Linked DNA regions of Homo sapiens: region 1 is linked to region 2. Evidence: promoter capture Hi-C in human tissues and cell types (Jung and others, 2019). All regions are on one chromosome and are shown on one strand. Each heading gives the region's core, a stretch centred on a gene start or on the middle of the fragment in contact. The rest is flanking DNA. Distances are from core to core; before and after follow the strand shown.

The links. Contacts are between HindIII fragments. The study calls those that stand out against the background at their distance.
Region 1: a contact is called between a fragment that was not itself captured here and the fragment with the promoter of SLC40A1 in region 2, in 2 of the 25 tissues and cell types used here (aorta and thymus).

What each region holds. Positions count from the first base shown.
Region 1 is chr2:189,047,084-189,050,357 of GRCh38, forward strand. It overlaps COL5A2 (collagen type V alpha 2 chain), which reads right to left. Exons shown (of 54, transcript NM_000393.5): 44 at 2,264-2,371; 45 at 1,126-1,179. Among named protein-coding and RNA genes, the nearest start is that of MIR3606, 53 kb to the left of the region's middle. The HindIII fragment of the contact is 9,231 bases long and covers 1-3,274 here.
Region 2 is chr2:189,579,455-189,582,449 of GRCh38, forward strand. It overlaps SLC40A1 (solute carrier family 40 member 1), which reads right to left and starts at 1,332. Exons shown (of 8, transcript NM_014585.6): 1 at 964-1,332; 2 at 359-426. The coding sequence starts at 1,006. RefSeq lists silencers at 1,286-1,345, 1,416-1,585. The HindIII fragment of the contact is 17,191 bases long and covers 1-2,995 here.

The DNA.
Region 1 (3,274 bases), core at 760-3,259, 530 kb before region 2:
TGCACTCCAGCCTGGCAACAGAGCAAGACTCTGTCTCAAAAAAAAAAAAAAAAATACTTAAAGCACTTGTACATTTAGAATTTACCAGGAATCACCTCCTTTGCAACTATTTAAACTTGTGATTTTAAAAGGGCGATGGCAACTTAAAATAAGTAGAGAGATTTACCGATTTTCATAATTACTTCAGCAAAACCTTTGAAGATGGTTGCACTATATAGTATATATTGACAAAGGAAAAAGCCCAAGTTGCCAAGAGAATTTGCAGTCTGTGGATTATAGTAGATGAGCGGGACTTAGCCCAAGCTTCCTCCAAATCCTTTCTTCCCCTTTTTTTTCAATATGAGGTTGAGTGTCTATCCTGTAGTGGAGTGTTTAAACATGTCATTTAATATACAAATGCCCAATGGCATATGTATTAATTATATTTAAAGCATTTGAAAATGGAGGTTCAGAAAATCTGCTTAAGATTACACAGCTAATTACTTAGGGAAACAATATTCCAAATCAAGTCTGACTGGCTCCAAAGCCCATTCTGCTACATGATGAGCTTTAATTACATCATAACAGACTTTGGAGTGGGGAGTGATTTTGCCTTCAGTGGCCCATCTCAGCAGCATGAGATGACTGTGCAACTGCCAGAAGGGACTGGGGCTTCAGAGAAAGTTGGGGACATGTTCAGTTCAGCACATTCTAATTTAAAACACATCATGGAATATACAGTGTTTAAAAAGCCACATGGCTTATATTCTCATACGGCATTCACTTTAGATGGTGAATGGAAAAATTTAGACATTACACAGCACTATTTTGGCTTTCATGCTTTTGTTAATGAGTTTAAAATTTAGAACACTTCATATATATCCTCATCCAAAGCCTTTATGTTAAACCAAAGATGGCTTCAATTTTATCTTCCTGCTCTGAAAAAATACCATCTTAATTTGTTGCATATTCAAATATCATTTCATTTACAAGATATAAAAATTATGGCTTTACAGAAACAGTTGTTATTCAGAAAAATCAGAAGTGTATTGGAACTATCAGGAAAAATGACAGTTTTTAGTGTAAATTAAAAAGATTTCAGATTTGCATGACTTTAGATTTTATAATAAGTGAAATGGCTCTTACACGTTCTCCAACAGCACCATCCCGTCCTGGGGTACCATCATTGCCAGCTGGACCCTATAAAGAATAATGGTTTGAAAAACTACTTAACTGAGTAATGAAAAAAATCCTCATTCCAATTGTCAAAAAATGACAGCATGTTTTACACCTGTGTTTTATAAACTGTCAGTTAGCATTTATGCAAATGTCAGCAGAAGAACGGTTTCTACCTCTTTTTCATTATTTTGAATTACTGTAAAATTAACATATTCTTACTTAATCCATATTCTTCATTTATATTTCTTATTTTGAAAAACAAAAAACCCACAAATATTTTGAAATAGATAACAATTACATTCTTGCCACTTTATGTTTTGCTTGTATTAACAATGAAAGGCTTTTCTTACATTTACTTCTTAAGATTATTCAAATATCCTTAAAGTTTTGAAATAAAATAACTGTTTCAATATTAAACTACTTTAAGAAATAGTCTTCCTTTTCTATTTTATTGTGATTTTTTTCATAAATATGTCTTTGCTATTTGATCAAAAATTGTTCCAAAGGCTATTGATTCTTTCTTTCAATAAAATGTTACATTAACTGTTTGATGATTCACTCCTTAAAATCCTGAACAGAGGATATTCCAGCCTTTAACTTCTCAAATTGCCTATCAAAAACTGATTTCCTCCCAAAAGTGCCTAAAGGAACATGATATCCATTATGTTACTTTATAGTGATATTTAAGTAAAATGATCTCTACTAACTTTGCCCTTTTCACAAGCTGGAATAGCTATATTAATCCTATCACCAAAAAACTTGGCAATTTTGATAAATATGTCATTACAAAATGAAATAATAACAAGGGAAAGATGAATGGATGTGTCCTTTCACCCTCAAAACAGTTTGGCAACAGCTTAAATGAACTAAAATACTTAGCTCCAGACTAGATGAAGGTCAGTGCAAAGACACCGATCCTATTACCTTTTCTTTATGTCATCACTTAGCCAACTCTCTAGGGAAGTAGAGTACATCAAATAACATTACTAAGAAACTTTCTTAAGGTCAAATATGCAATAAAATTCTAAATCAATTGCTAAATGAAAAAAATTGTTTCCATGACACCAGATAACAAGAGAAGAGTTATTTTCACTGTAGTACTCACTTCTGGTCCAGGTTCCCCTACAGGACCATTGGAGCCTGGGGGCCCCACAGGTCCAGGTGGACCTTTATCTCCTGTTGCACCAGTTGGTCCTACTTTTCCTGGTGTTCCCTGAAATAGAAGTATAAATGTCAAACACTTGTGAAGAAATTGAAGAACGCTAGTTCCCATAAAGGCTAAGTTTTCAAAATGGTGCCTCTGGGCTCCTTCTATAATAATAATTTTGCATTATCTTACAACACTCATGTAATCATAATGCTTTCTTAGAGGCCTGCCCACCTCCTATCAGACTCCTCTTGACGTATCTAAGGGACCAAAAACCAACCATCTGTTGCCACCAGCACAGGTGTGCATTTTGGGTTCTAATCATGTGTACCATAGGTGATTCTAGCTGCCCTTCTGGAATTTGCATCACTTTCATCCTTTTTCCCCGCTCTGCTTTGTCTGTTCATTTTATTTCTATATTCTGATACTTTGATCTCACTCTTGAGAGATTTTACTTTCACATTCTTGGCTCACTTCTGATAACAATAAGACATCCCTTAGCTCCTACTTTGTTGGTTTCATATTTCAACCCACATGTCTCCCAGTTCTAAGATCCCATACATCTCTCTGTCTACATTCCATATGAAAACATCATTAATTTTTTTCAAGCACTGTAATCTTTTAGCAATAAAATTTAGTCTCTTCAAAGCTAACTTTGAATCAAACTTTTATCCATACTCCAGGGAATATAAAATCCTAAAGCACCCTCCAGGGAACAGGAGATTACCTTCAGATCCTTCTTCAGCATTCCCCCTACATTCACCTCAAATATTACTTTAGCTCAACTATGTCTTCCCTTTGATGGTTTACTGTAAAATATGGTATTTTTGTTAAGCATGTTTACTTAAAAAGACACTACCTATTCACCAGAAGATTATCCCCCTCCTCTAGCTCCGGGATCTTTTTAATCTTTGAAGAAGGATTTAAAGGTCACCAAAAATCCATATCCTTATTTGCCTACTTTTCTAG
Region 2 (2,995 bases), core at 82-2,581:
AGAAGAGAAGGTATATGAGACATCCATCCATCTTTTGTAGCAGATATGTCTATTTACCAAAGCTACTAATGCAACATAAAATTTAAAAACAAGGCAAATATTCCTTTCCTTGATAATCTTGTCTGGATAGTTGTCTATCTACATAAACTACGATGATCTGATAATTAAGTTGCATTAACTAACACTCATGGGGAAAGATCTTCGATGTAAATAACGTTTTCATTAAAGCATGTGTACTTGGATGATTTATTTCTTTAACTGCTTGACAAAACTGGAAGTTGGCTTAATACAACTGGCTAGAACGAAAGGAAATAAAAAATTGCGCAACTGTGTTGTAAGACTATGCATTCTCACTTACCCAAGTAGAGAGAGAATGACCAAGGTAGAGAAGGAATTTTGCAGAGGTCAGGTAGTCGGCCAAGGATCCTGCAAAGACACAGGCGGGGTGACAAAAAGCGATGGTAGTCACTTAATGAGCTGAGGGCAGAATGCTTATCCATTTGATCTCATTAGAACATGATTATTAAAAACTACTTTGCAGGACAAACCACGTACATTTTATCAAGTTACCTATGAACCGATGTATTTCGTTCACTTAATACCATTCACTAAATTCAGTTATTGACCTAGTCAATAACTGCCCAACTTCACATTTCACATACAGTGAAGAAACTCTTGTTTCAGCATTCTTTTTTGGGTTGGTTGGTTTGTTTGTTTTGTTTCTTTTTTACACAAGGCAATCCAAACTGCCCAATCTACTCCATCCGTGCCTGTGTGCAAACCCCTTTTCCCACACCCTGAATTTCCTTTCTTCCTTAACGTCCACCAAATATGAGTCAAAGGATCTTTTTACAAAGCTATGGTTCACAGCAGAGCCACATTCCTCCAGAACTCGTGTAGAGTTGCTTGTCTCCAAAGCCCCACCTGGGTTTCCACCATATGCTTTCGGTCAACGACACTCACCACAGCATCCTCTCTGGCGGTTGTGATCTCCCGCCCTGGTCATGACACTAGGCGACCCCGCTGGCTCTTCTGCGGCTGCTATCGCTGCTGCTGCTCTCGCTGAGGTGCTTGTTAACAGGAGTGCAAGGAACTGGAGATAGCACCTCTAAAAACACAACAGCCTTGGGCAAAAAGACTACAACGACGACTTTGGCAAAGAACAAAAGAAAAGGGGCCCAGGGATTTTCTTTTTTCCTTCTTTCCAAACTTAGCTAACACTGTAGCTGAAGTTGGAAAGGCAAAGCCTTATGGAAGCGGTTTGGGAGGCTCAGCAGGTCGTCCGAGCCTAGCGGACGCCCTGAGCCAGCTCTCTCCGCCGCCGCCGCCGCCGCCGTGGGCCGGGCCCAGCTCTTATACCGAGTCGGGGGCGGAGCTCCCTGCGACCTCCGACTGGGGCCGCCCCGTCCCCTTCAGGGCCGCCCGGGCGTCCCCGCGGCGCGAGACGAGCTCCCGTCAACCTTGCGCGCCGGGCCGTCCCCGCGCCCTTGCCCGGAGGAGTCGCCCACCCCGGGCGCAAGCGTCCAACCGGCCGCAGACACCCTGCGCGGCTTGCGGGGACCTTCGCCTCGACGCGTTCCACTCCCCGGGTTTTCCTGCTCTCCGGGAAGCCGCGAGGGCAACCTCGGGGGGCGGCCGTGGGGCTGGGAAAAGGAGGAAGGCGCGTGGAGCCGGCGGGGCGGCGTAGGGAGATTCTGCGCGAAACTAAGCGTCAGGTGCTGGAAGAAAGCGCTGCGCACCGGCTACCCCGCAGTTCAGGGAAAGGGCGGCCGCCGGACGGTCGCAGTGCAAAGCTCCAGCGCGAGCTTGGTGGGTGGGGATTCCTTTTTTAACGAAAATAATTTTTAATACAGGTATCTAAATAAATATAATTCATGCCACAGAGGCCGCTTTCCTGGCCGTCCCATTCCGGCCCGCCTGCAGCAGAGAATGCCTTTCCTTCCCCGGACTGCATAGCAGGGCTTCCCTCAAAGAACCAGAATCAAAGGGCAGGAAGGGGGCGCAAAGATCAGAGTCCATCCCTCTTGAGAGGAGCAAACGGAGGCTTGCAAAGGTGAAGTCCCGCAGCGAGTTACAGACCTACCCGTATCCCCAAACTGGGGCCTCCAAATCCGTCCTGGAGACAGAATGAGGATGCTGCAGCCCCAGCAAACCCTTCACCATCATTCCTTCTCCCTCTGTACCCTCTCACCCCGCCCCCACGCGCGCGTCCCTTCCCCACCTAACCTCCAAATGCCCCAGTGACAGGCTTACCAGGAATACCGGTTATCCCAGTTGTGTCCCTGGATCTGTCCCTGTCCAGATAAAGCCATTCGGTGGCCTCCTGGAGGGTGAGGTGAATGACTAAAGAACACCAGACTCTAGCCTTGGTTGACTTCGTTTTAATCCTGCTGTGCCAAACCAACCCCTGGGGCATACCAGCCCCTTTTGCCAGTAGGTTACCTTACCCTTCTTAATCTCACGAAAACCCTGGTAGTGGATCCTACATATTGAAACTCCAACCAGATGCCACACCTTGAGCACAGGCCAGACTGACACCCAGTAGTGAAGGGAGCCACGCATGAGTATGTGCCCTGTATCTGCACTCTCAATCAGGAGCCCCAAAGGTCTACGGGGTGGGTGCAGCTGGATTCGGTTGGGATGTGGTCTGGTGAGTAGAGATAGGGGTTACAGTTTAACTACTGCTTTTCACTGCTTTTTGCCTTTTCAAGCCCTCTTTTTTCCTTTCTTTCACACGACATTCAAGTTCTTTCTCCCAATTTAGAGAGGTTTTGGTTTGCTAACCGTGGAGAATAGGGTCATTTATACATGCATCCTTGAGAATAAACCAAAGTATACTCAGATGAGTGAACTAAAGTGAAGGAGTGAACTGGTAAATAAACCCCTCCACTTTATGGCGATCCCTTATTAGAGATGAATTTTTTGACAGGTCCTCAACAAGGCACAAAGGATAGTGATAGTTTGCACATTTGTCAGAGTGTGTCTCAGCAACAAG